3 separate regions of the Homo sapiens genome follow, and regions 1 and 3 are each linked to region 2. Evidence: promoter capture Hi-C in human tissues and cell types (Jung and others, 2019). All regions are on one chromosome and are shown on one strand. The core of a region is centred on a gene start or on the middle of the fragment in contact, and the rest is flanking DNA. Distances in the headings are between cores, read along the strand shown. Region 1 overlaps DDX23 (DEAD-box helicase 23). Region 2 holds the start of DDN (dendrin). Region 3 has its middle 31 kb from the start of TUBA1C.

What was found. Contacts are between HindIII fragments. The study calls those that stand out against the background at their distance.
Region 1: a fragment that was not itself captured here is called in contact with the fragment with the promoter of DDN in region 2 in 2 of the 25 tissues and cell types used here (liver and lymphoblastoid cells).
Region 3: a fragment that was not itself captured here is called in contact with the fragment with the promoter of DDN in region 2 in 1 of the 25 tissues and cell types used here (spleen).

Annotation. Positions count from the first base shown.
Region 1 is chr12:48,841,996-48,845,762 of GRCh38, forward strand. DDX23 (DEAD-box helicase 23) reads right to left here. Exons shown (of 17, transcript NM_004818.3): 2 at 3,579-3,767; 3 at 1,945-2,055. Among named protein-coding and RNA genes, the nearest start is that of DDX23, 8.3 kb to the right of the region's middle. The HindIII fragment of the contact is 6,479 bases long and covers 1-3,767 here.
Region 2 is chr12:48,997,278-49,001,432 of GRCh38, forward strand. DDN (dendrin) reads right to left here and starts at 2,098. Exons shown (of 2, transcript NM_015086.2): 1 at 1,802-2,098; 2 at 1-1,389. The coding sequence starts at 2,010. It overlaps DDN-AS1 (DDN and PRKAG1 antisense RNA 1), which reads left to right and starts at 1,070. Exons shown (of 2, transcript NR_147179.1): 1 at 1,070-1,413. RefSeq lists silencers at 1-79, 280-369, 920-1,379, 2,029-2,323 and enhancers at 730-799, 2,469-2,763. The HindIII fragment of the contact is 9,489 bases long and covers 1-2,928 here.
Region 3 is chr12:49,232,538-49,236,297 of GRCh38, forward strand. It overlaps a transcript of TUBA1C not described here. Among named protein-coding and RNA genes, the nearest start is that of TUBA1C, 31 kb to the right of the region's middle. RefSeq lists a silencer at 1,940-2,229. The HindIII fragment of the contact is 6,126 bases long and covers 1-3,760 here.

The DNA.
Region 1 (3,767 bases), core at 1,205-3,704, 150 kb before region 2:
CCCGTCTGAGAAGTGAGGAGACCCTCTGCCTGACAACCGCCCCGTCTGAGAAGTGAGGAGCCCCTCCGCCCGGCAGCCACATCGTCTGAGAAGTGAGGAGCCCCTCCGCCTGGCAGCCACCCCGTCTGGGAAGTGAGGAGCGTCTCCGCCCGGCAGCCACCCCGTCCGGGAGGGAGGTGGGGGGGGTTAGCTCCCCACCCGGCCAGCCGCCCCGTCCAGGAGGGAGGTGGGGGGGTCATCCCCCCACCCGGCCAGCCGCCCATCCGGGAGGGAGGTGGGGGGGTCAGCCCCCGGCCCGGCCAGCCGCCCTGTCCGGGAGGTGAGGGGCGCCTCTGCCCGGCCGCCCCTACTGGGAAGTGAGGAGCCTCTCTGCCCAGTCAGCCGCCCCGTCCGGGAAGGAGGTGGGGGAGGTCAGCCCCCCGCCCGGCCAGCCGCCCCATCCGGGAGGGAGGTAGGGGGGTCAGCCCCCCGCCCGGCCAGCCACCCCGTCCGGGAGGAAGGTGGGGGGGTCAGCCCCCCGCCCGGCCAGCCGCCCCGTCCGGGAGGGAGGTGGGGGGGTCAGCCCCCCGCCCGGCCAGCCGCCCCGTCCAGGAGGTGAGGGGCGCCTCTGCCCGGCCGCCCCTACTGGGAAGTGAGGAGCCCCTCTGCCCGGCCAGCCGCCCCGTCCGGGAGGGAGGTGGGGGGGTCAGCCCCCCGCCCGGCCAGCCGCCCCGTCCAGGAGGTGAGGGGCGCCTCTGCCCGGCCGCCCCTACTGGGAAGTGAGGAGCCCCTCTGCCCGCCCACCACCCCGTCTGGGAGGTGTACTCAACAGCTCATTGAGAACGGACCATGATGACAGTGGCGGTTTTGTGGAATAGAAAGGCGGGAAAGGTGGGGAAAAGATTGAGAAATCGGATGGTTGCCGTGTCTGTGTAGAAAGAGGTAGACATGGGAGACTTTTCATTTTGTTCTGTACTAAGAAAAATTCTTCTGCCTTGGGATCCTGTTGATCTGTGACCTTACCCCCAACCCTGTGCTCTCTGAAACATGTGCTGTGTCCACTCAGGGTTGAATGGATTAAGGGTGGTGCAAGATGTGCTTTGTTAAACAGATGCTTGAAGGCAGCATGCTCGTTAAGAGTCATCACCACTCCCTAATCTCAAGTACCCAGGGACACAAACACTGCGGAAGGCCGCAGGGTCCTCTGCCTAGGAAAACCAGAGACCTTTGTTCACTTGTTTATCTGCTGACCTTCCCTCCACTATTGTCCTGTGACCCTGCCAAATCCCCCTCTGCAAGAAACACCCAAGAATGATCAATTAAAAAAAAAAAAACCCAAAAAAAACAAAATCTGGTGGCAGATGCCTGTAGTCCAGCTACTCAGGAGGCTGAGGTGGGTGGATCACCTAAGCCTGGGGGAGTCAAGGCTGCAGTAAGTTGTGATCACACCACTGCACTCCAGCCTGGGCAAAAGAGACCCTGCCTCAAAAAAATAAATAAAAATAAATAAGAAAGAGAGCTCTGTAATAACTACCAACAGAATCTGTTAAGAGAAATCTACTTTCTTTCTTTCTTTTTTTTTTTTTTTTTTTGAGACAGAGTCTTGCTCTGTCGCCCAGGCTGGAGTGCAGTGGCGTGATCTCGACTCACTGCAGGCTCCGCCTCCCGGGTTCACGCCATTCTCCTACCTCAGCCTCCTGAGTAGCTGGGACTACAGGCACCCGCCACCACGCCCGGCTAATTTTTTGTATATTTAGTAGAGACGGGGTTTCACCATGTTAGCCAGGATGGTCTCGATCTCCTGACTTCGTGATCCACCAGCCTCAGCCTCCCAAAGTGCTGGGATTACAGGCGTGAGCCACCACGCCTGGCGAGAAATCTACTTTCATAAGAAGCTGAGCAAACTCAGGTGCAGAGAAGAAATGGGAGCATTCCCCTAAAGCCCCCTCTCATTCCTTCATGTACCTGGATCGTTTACGGTCCTTGTCCCGTCTGTGCCCATCCTTGTCTCGATCTCGGTCCTTCTTATTCCGATCCCGCTCCTTATCTCGTTCTCGTTCTTTGTGCCGTCGTTCTCTGGAAGACCGCAAATTTAAGAGTTCACTTGGTATTTCCAAAGTATCTTGCTTCACTGCAGCCCTGAGAAAGTTCCTATACTCTCGTCCCAAAGTAATGTTTTACAAATTAGAGAATGTATCTCTCACGGAAATAACGAGGGAATTCTAAGAAGCTTTTATAGATCAGAGATGTACTGTTAAATATTAACGGCAATGACAGGTCACGGACTATGTGAACAGATGAACCTTCCTTTTTTATTTTTTTGAGATGGAGTCTCACTCTCACGCCCAGGCTGGAGTGCAGTGGTGTGATCTCGGCTCACTGCAGCCTCTGCCTCCCGAGTTCAAGGAATTGTCATGCCTCAGCCTCCCGAGTAGCTGGGATTACAGATGTGCACCACCATGCCTGGCTAATTTTTGTATTTTTAGTAGAGACGGGGTTTTGCCATGTTGGCCAGGCTGCTCTCAAACTCCTCACCTCAAGTAATCCACCTACCTCGGCCTCCCAAAGTGCTGGGATTATAGGTATGAGCCACCGCGCCCGGCCACAGATGAACCTTCCTTGATAACCCGGACCTTCACCTTACTAGTTCCCTCTCAACTTTTTTTTTTTTTATTTTTAGTAGAGATCAGGTATCACTGTGTTAGCCAGGATGGTCTCGATCTCCTGACCTCGTGATCCACCTGCCTCGGCCTCCCAAAGTGCTGGGATTACAGGCGTGAACCAACCGCGCCCGGCCCCCTCTCAACTTTTAAGAGTTGGGTCACTGAGGAAAACTGAAAACACCTGCAGGTCCAACTGGGCTAGGAGTAGATTAATGTACAAAAAGTAGATGCCTAGCCGGGCGTGGTGGCTCACGCCCGTAATCCCAGCACTTTGGGAAGCTGAGGTGGGTGGATCACCTGAGGTCGGAAGATTGAGATCAGCCTGACCAACGTGGAGAAACCCCGTCTCTACTAAAAGTACAAAATTAGCCAGGTGTGGTGGCACATGCCTGTAATCCCAGCTATTCGGGAGGCTGAGGCAGGAGAATTGCTTGAACCTGGGAGGCAGAGGTTGCAGTGAGCCGAGATCGTGCCATTGCACTCCAGCCTGGGAAACAAGAGTGAAACTCCATCTTTTAAAAAAAAAAAAAAAAAGGCCAGGCGCGGTGGCTCACGCCTATAATCTCAGCACTTGGGGAGGCTGAAGCAGGCAGATCACGTCAGGAGATCGAGACCATCCTGGCTAACACGGTGAAACCTCATCTCTACTAAAAATACAAAAACATTAGCCGGGCATGGTGTCGGGCGCCTGTAGTCCCAGCTACGCACTCAGGAGGCAGAGGCAGGAGAATGGCGTGAACCTGCGAGGCGGAGCTTGCAGTGAGCTGAGATCGCACCACTGCACTCCAGTCTGGGTAACAAACAGAGCGAGACTCTGTCTCAAAAAATAAAAATAAAAAGTAGATGCCTAATACTGGAGGCATCAGAAGAACCAAGAAGGAAGAAATCTGAAACGTACTCTCCCTTCCCATGTAATAACATACAAAGTTACTTTACCTTTCTGCAGATTTGGAACGGGAACGAGAGCGAGAACGGCTGCCTCCTCGACGTCTATCCCTTGAACGATGCCGCTTTCTATCTTTAGATGGGGAAGACTTCCGGTCCCGGTCTCTATCCCGCTCTCTGTCAGGAGTCCGTGATCGCTTCCTTTCCTCCTTGGAAGGTGATGCATCACGGTCCTTTTTG
Region 2 (4,155 bases), core at 848-3,347:
CCCTCAGCTTCGCCCCCGCGGCCCCCGCCGGGCTGGTGTAAAAGGCGACTGCTCGACAGCCGCTTTTGACAAGGGGAAGGAAAGACCGTGGCCCCTTCACCCTCCTCCTTGCCGGGCTTCGATTGGCTGGGGGAATCCCCCACCACGCGTGTCACCCCAGAGGGCAAAAGCTGCACCTGCTGGGTTCGGGGGGTTGGAACATATTGGGATCGTATCACTACGCACGTGGCGTCAATGACAAAGACGCCTTCCCCACGGGACAGGCCCTGGGAACTGCGGGGCAAGGTGTGGGCACGGCGGGTCGCCTTCCAACCCTCCAGGGTCTCCGGTCCTGCCCCCTCTCCAAGACCCAGAGATTCTCTCCATCCGGTGCCTCCGGGAGCCCAGGGTCTGGGGAGTGTCTGGCTATGGCGGGGCGGCTGCTTTTTAGGGGAGGGAATCCAGCATTTGGGAAACCAGATCTGTTCTCCTTCTTTCCCTTCCCTCGAGCCCTTGAGGTGGTGCCTGGATCTGGGAGCGGGATGCGGGGCACAGGGAGCCGCAGTTGCAGACCCCGCAGGAGCTATCTCGGTGCCTGCGCTCCCTGTAGCTTTGGCTTGGGGATGGCTGTCGCTACCACTGTTCAGGTCAGCAGCAGCCAGCCCCAGGCTTTTCTCCACGACCCCCTTGCCGGGCTCTGGCCTTGCTCTGGCCGCTCCACAGCCTGGGGATCCCCCCAAGAGACCTTGCCCCTGTCGGAGACCCCAAGCCCCGAGGACGTCCCGGTAGATCCGAGGATCCAGCCTCTTCTTTGTGCGCCCTCCGTCTGTCCTGGCTGGAGTCGCAGCTGGGGCTGATGAAGTGGGCACCTGAGAGTTCCCGGGGCCTCTCTTAGTCCCCAAGGTCCTATGGGGGCCTTCGTAAGAAGGTGGAGCCACGTAGGGTGGCGGCCGGTCCCAGCGGCGTCGTGGGGCGGTCCCGGCAGAACCTCTCAGCAGCAGGTGAGCCTCGTAGCTTGGGGGCCCGGGCCGCCGACCTCCCCAGGGCCCCGCCCACGCCGACCCTGGGTCGCTCTGCGGCTGCGCGGATGGACGGGGCGCTCGCCCCACAGGCGCCAGGCGCTCCGGCCGCAAGGGAGCAGGGAGCCCTGCCAGCTGGGCCACCCGAGGGGCGTTGCGGGGCTCCGGGCGGGGTCGACCCGGGGGGCTCCGTCGGGCCCCACCAGCCTTGCGCCTTTTTCGCTCGGTCTCCTTGGCCTCCCGCTCCTGCGACGCCGCTTTCCTTTTCTCTTGCTCCCGAGCTCGGACCTCGGCCAGGGGCCCCGCCCGCCAGTTGGTCGCCTCCTGCAGCACCCTGGAGGCCCAGGGCCGGCGGGGCGGCGGCTGTGGGGATCCCGGGCGCGGCCCACACCTGGGACAATGAGCAGGAACCCAGGTGAGCAGTTTGTGGGGGAAGGGAGCCGAGGTCCGGGGAGCTGGGAGCACTGGAGACCACTTGGGGCAGCCATGTGAAGGGGTGTGTGTGAGTGTGTGCGCGTGTGCACGTGCGTATATGTTAGGACTGAAGTCGAAGCGGGACTCCTCGCCATCTCTCCATGCACACTTTAACAGCGTCTGCCCCATCTCACCTCCTGCCCTTTCTCACACCCACTTCTGTTCCCCCAAACAACGGGATGAGTCAGGCCCCAGCCCTCGGGAGCGGGCAGAGGTGGAAGGCGTGGGAAAGAGAAGGGGGACCAGCAGTGCTCGCTGGTGCCTGCGGGGAGGTCCGGACCCCACTCCCCGCCCCACCACTCTCTTCCCCTCACCCCTGCTTCACTCACGTGCGGTTCTGGAACCCGCGAGCCCAGTGGCTGGCCTGGAAGTCCATGGGCTGTCGAGAAGGGGCGCGGCGACTATAATGACAGGAAATAGTCTTCACTTCTATCACCAATAGCTTGGACTTCTGCACCCAGAGGCAGCTGCCAGACTCCTCATCCTGGAGCTCCCGGGGGCTGTCAGGCCCCTCGGAGAACAGTGGGCCATCCAGCATCCTGCCCCACCCCACCCCGGCCCCCCACCCTCCCACCCGCCCCAGGAGCCCCCTCCCAGCCCAGGGAGCCGGCGCCCACTGCAGAGCCGCGGGCCCGGGGACTGGGAACTATATATACCCGGGCACACGTGTGTGTGCCTGTCTCTGTGTGTGCGCGCGCATGTGACACCGCGCGGACTGCTCCGCGCTGCTACCTCCCCCATGTGCACGGCCGCCCCCTGGGGCCCGGGATTGGACGCCCCTTCCCACTGCTGTTGTCCCCCAAGCCTGATGGGATCGCACGAGTGGGCGGGGGAGGGACTTATGATTCTTGCCAAGCTGACAGTGCCCCCTCCCCCGCCCCTATTTCTTCAACCTTCCTGCCGTTTTAACCCTTTACTCTCCTGCTTGTCAGGTTGCCTGACCACCAGGGTTCTGCCCCTGGCTTCCTGCCTCAGATTTCAGTTTCCCCAACATAGAGTGATGAGATTGGAACTCAAGGTCTCTGCCTGCCACTCTGCTGGTTTCCATGGGGCTGGGGTGCAGGAGGGGCTGGCCCACGGCTGGGGGGCTATTTTTAGCGGCAGTGGCTGTTCGGGTGCAGAGATGAGATGAGTAACCAGCTCCCATGCGGTGGAGAGAGGAGGCGGTGGCTTTTACCAAGCTTTTGTGCGACTCTGAGGGAGAGCTGCCTTCCCTAAGCTCAAAAAGGGTGACCCCTACACCCGTATCTCCTTGTCAGCTCAGTGCTGCAGCCTAGGACTGCTGGTACAGCAGGACACAGGCGTCTGCCTTGGCCACCCAAGCTGCCCTACCAGTTCCATTCTACATGTTTGTCCTTGGGCAGCCAGGGAGCCCTCCCACAGCAGCAGGCTTTCACCTCCAATCCAGAAGCCAGGATTTGGGGGTTATATTGTTCTGTGCCCACACAGCCTGCCCAGCTTTATGGAGGACAGAGTAAGTGCTTATGCACTCTCACCCTTCCAGAGGGGGATGGAGGAGAAATGATGTGTTTGCTTGGCAAAACTAATCCCCTAGCAACTGAAATGATAAAAGTGGCCTTTATTTTTTTCAATGTAGAACTCCCCCTCACCACCACCACAATGCCTAGTTCACTCAGTCCCCACCTTAAGTGGTGCTCCAGATGCTCACCTTTTGGGCTGCCTCTGTCCTGGGGGGCTGTTGCTTATATCCACATGATCCCTCCTCCTAAGCTTATACCAGGTGTCCCCTGATTCACCATGGTAATGTTAGTGGCAGCACAGCCCACGCCAACCCTTCCATGCAGAGACTTAGCAACCATGCCTGGCAACCATGGCAGCAGCTTCAGTGGAGGGGAGCAGTGCAGAGAGAGGGGAGAGTGTGTGGGGCATGGTTCCTCGGGAAGAAGGGATAATTTGCCTCTCTGGAGAGGAATAGGTAAGAATAGAAGCTTGTGAGTCTCCCAAATTTCATCCCTTGTCTCTCCCTCAGCTTCATCCTCACACTGAGACGGATAGGTTGGGTTTTAGAGGGAAATGGGAGAAGCAAGAGTTCCCAATTAGTTTTCCACTAATGTACATGGAGCCCTTTGGGTCCAGACCCTTCCTTTTAAGGGGATGGGGAACAACCAGAAAGGTTGTGGGGCAGAGACTGACAGACTGAGAAACAACTCAACAAAACCAGGTCTCTGCTCCCTAACACAAACCTTTAGAGAGAACGCAAACATCCCGTCCCATCCACCCTACCCCCCTTGATTCCACACACCTGCCAGCTGCACTGATGACTTGACTCGAAGATGCTTCCTTCCACCCTAGGTCCCACTAGAGTCCTGAGGCTTTTTAAAGCCCTTGCCTCCTCCCTAGGCAAATCTTCCTTAATGAGGGAATGTGACATAAGGGGCCATCTGTCCTTTCCACCATGTGCTTACCCTCCTGACACATAAACATACTCTAATTCTAATAACTTGGAAGCCTTCCTCCCCCAAGGTTGAGAATGTGCTGTGAGAGCTGTAAAGGGGTGAAGGCAGAAGCAGGGGCTCCTCCACAGCCATGATGCAACACTGAAAGCTGAGCTCTGATGAGGGCCACCTTCTTTTTTTAAAATAAGCTTCCTCAGGTCGAATCTGATGAGGGCCTTGATGCTTTTCCCTGTGTTCCATCAGGAGAACCCAGTATGCCCTGGCTG
Region 3 (3,760 bases), core at 396-2,895, 230 kb after region 2:
AATCAGGGATAGGCAATTCTGAATTTTTAAAAAGGCGCTATGTTAAATCCTTCTTATGAGAAAAAAATATCACTTATAATGTAGAAAGTTGAGGTTTCTCAGAGAGCTCTCCCTTTTACTGCTGAAGGGGCTTCTCAGCAGGCAAAGATATCTGCTCAGTAACTTATACTTCTGTGAAGAAGAGATTCCTAAGTGTAAGATGTATGACTTGTCGTTTTGGGGTTAAGTACAATCCCAAACACTCTGTCTCCACCACCTTTTTTCTGGAGGTGTTCTTTTTATTTTATTTTTTCAAAGTGGGGCACATTTCAGAAATTTTTGCTGGGAAACTCAGAATACAAACTTAACGGCATGTTAAAATTCTAAAAATAGTTTGACCCTGCATTTCACAGAGTTCAGGGCTTCAAAACTGTGCTGTCCAAACATGATTGGTGATTAATTGATTTTGACCCCCTGCAAGAAGTGAAAGCAGCTGGTTTACGAGACTTGAGAGACAGCCGATTTTCCAAGGGAGAACAAAGAAAAAGTGGCCACCCCTCCCCGCTGGGAGCGCGCTTTGCTTTGTCTGAGCGGACTCTCTCCAGGGACTGCCGCCGGGGAGGCTCAAAGCTGTGTCCTTGCGATTAGTTTGGTACACTTGGTTCAGCAGCCTGGGGAATGTGGGGAGATGTGTGCCTGCACAGTATCAACGTTATCAGCTGCCCTGTTCATGTCGCCTCTCCCTGAAGGACACTTTCATAACACAGTAACACTTAGGAGAAGGTTCCCCTCCTTTACTTCTGTTTCTCTGCTGATAAACAAATGTCAGGCATCTTCCTGGATCCGGGCCCTGATTCACTAAGTTACTGTATATCCATTGCCCTTTTTTGTCCTCCAAACACTGAGCTCTCAGTGCTCTTCTGGCTGGATCCAGATTGTGAAGATTACAGCCCCACTGGTTCCTTTCAGGACTTGGGGGCCCAACATTCCATCTCCAGGGCCTCAAGGAGCCTTCCATTCCTGATGGGTTCCCAATTACCGTGTTTCTGGTGCTACCAGACAAAAGAGAAGGCCCTGTTTTGACCCAGAGCCCTATAGCTGTGCCCTGATGGGAGATGGGAATTTTGATGTCTGACAACCTGATCAACAGCGTGACTCCTAGACCGAGTGAACCGTGGTCCGTCCACGAGCCTTCATCACTAGAGGAAAAACGGAGATGAATGATTATGACGCTTGAAGCAACGAACCTCTGCAAGTAGGAGGGTCCGGAAGGTTATTCCGGAATCACTGGGCAAGGTGAAGGGCAGGGCTGCGTAAGCGAAAGCGTCTGCTCAGTGCAGGGCAGCATAAACTCTGCAACATAAAAAGAGGGAAGCTGAGCTCTGGCATCATCTTGCGGGTTGCAGTTCCCGGCAACAGGGCTGGCTCCAGAGCAGAAGCGCAACCCGTCATCTTCCTGCGGGCCGCAGCCATAGGTGGAGAAAGGTGGTACCACAAGGCTCTCCCACTGGATGACGGTGACGCGCAATAAGCAGATGATTGCAGAGGCTCCTGTCAAATGGGTGCAGAGAAAAGGGAAGTGGGGAGAGGAGGAGGGACCTAGAAATGGCACTGCAACGATCCTGGAATAAAAACGAGGGGCCACAGTCAGAAATGACAAACGCCTCCACCTTGAAACGCAACCCCTAGCCCATTTATCCAATTTGCCTCTGATAACTGCTTTTAATATGTTGTAAATCCCATTAAAGCAGGAGAGAATAAATGAAAGCAGTCCCCTACCAGGTTCTAATTTTCATTCTCCTTTAGCATTGTCTTAAATAACAAGGACACCCTAAAAATCAAGTCCACCCTGTTTAGCTGTGGCAAGCGCTAAAAACCGTTAAGTTCGTTGAAACACTACTCTCCAAACCAGAGTAGGCTTCCAGGTTTCTCTGCAGAGCAGAAAGGAGGCTGTGGTTGTGTCCATGACTTTGCTTCCTTGGTTAGTACGGTGACGTGCAGCGCCAGGGCCTGGGCCTGGGCTCGGGCTCCCACCCGCGTGGCGCCGCAGTCCTGGCGAGCCCCGAGCGCTCTGTCCCCGGTGACCAGCAGGCGGCGCTATCTCCAGGCCGCAGCCGCCGCCCCGCCCGCCACGAAGGCCACTTCCGCCGCGGCCCGGCGAGCGCGCCCCCGCCACGCCCTGCTGTTTAGAAGCGGCCTTTCTTCACATATCGCTGTCCGCGAAAGTTTCTGAACTCTTGTGACAATTAATGCTGTTTGAAAACCTCCCTCTTGGGTCTTTTGGAAGAGTGGACATCCTAAAAAAAATTTTCTTTTTGGAGACGGAGTATTGCTTTTGTTGCCCAGGCTGGAGTGCACTGGCGCGATCTCGGCTCACTGCAACCTCCGCCTCCCAGATTCAAGCGATTCTCCTGCCTCAGACTCCCGAGTATTTGGGATTACAGGCACCCGCCACCACGCCCATCTGATTTTTGTATTTTTAGTAGAGACGGGGTTTCACCATGTTGGTCAGGCTGGTCTCGAATTCCTGTCCTCGTGATCCGCCCGCCTCGGCCTCCCAAAGTGCTGGGATTACAGGCGTGAGCGACTGCGCCCGGCCAAAAAAAAAAAAAAAATTAATTTGGGATTGCGTAATCAAAAAGTCTTTTAGACATCTCAAATGCATTGCAACTTATTCGAATAAAAAGGGCTCCTGACACGGACAAAAAGGCAGTATAGGTTGAAAATTAGAATGCTTAAAAAAAAAAAAAATTCCCCTTCCTGTTAGTTCCAGATTTTTCTGCAAGCTTGGAGGACAGCTCGCGAAAATTCAGCTGGGGCGCCATCTGCTGGACGCGCCGCGCCGCTGCAAGGCCCTTTCCGGAAAGGTGTCGGGGTTGCAGGTCAGCGCCCCATTTTTTGTCCAGGAGAGACTCGCTGGCACCTTGGCTGGACCAGGCTGGGCGCAGTGGCTCACACCTGTAATCCCAACACTTTGGGAGGCCGAGGCAGGTGGATCACCTGAGGTCAGGAGTTTGAGACCAGTCTGGCCAACATGGTGAAACCCCGTCTCTACTAAAAATACAAAGAGTAGCTGGGCCTGGTGGTGCGCGCCTGTAATTCCAGCTACTCGGGAGGCTGAGGCAGAATTGCTTGAACCTGGCAGGCGAAAGTTACAGTTCGCCTGGGAGGCGAAAGTTGCACTCCAGCCTGGGTGACAGGGTGAGACTCGGTCTCAAAAAAAAAAAAAAAAAAATCTTACATAGTTTTTAAAAAATAAAAAGAGACCAGGCTGACTCTCTGCAAGAAAGTGGCCTGTGTTGAGGAGCCCTCGGGCCTCAATGAGTCGTCATTTGTTACATTGCTGGTCTCTGAGGAAAACCTGAGGCTCAACTCATTTAATTTCCTCCACCGGCCCACGGGCACAGGGCTACAAACTAAAACTATGCTTTCCATCAGTGCACACAGCGGGTTTCAGGGACAGAAATCACAATGTGCTTATTCTGAATGCTTCTGATTTTGCTGAATGGGAGGAGTTTCCAAGGTGAAGAGGGTGACAGAAATGAAATTAATCTGGGAGTAGGGAGATGTTAAAATGTGGCCTTGCCACGGTTTGATATAAGATCATGAAGCCCTGCCAACATTTTCCAAACTCCTCAGTCAGTTCTGATTCAGTTGAAGATTTTTCTATTTAGAAGACTTCAGGCCCTTTTCACATGAGGGTCTAAATGCATTAGCAAACACATTTATACATATACTTCAGCATGAGCCTGCATTCCCCGGTATTGCACTTTGTTAAAGT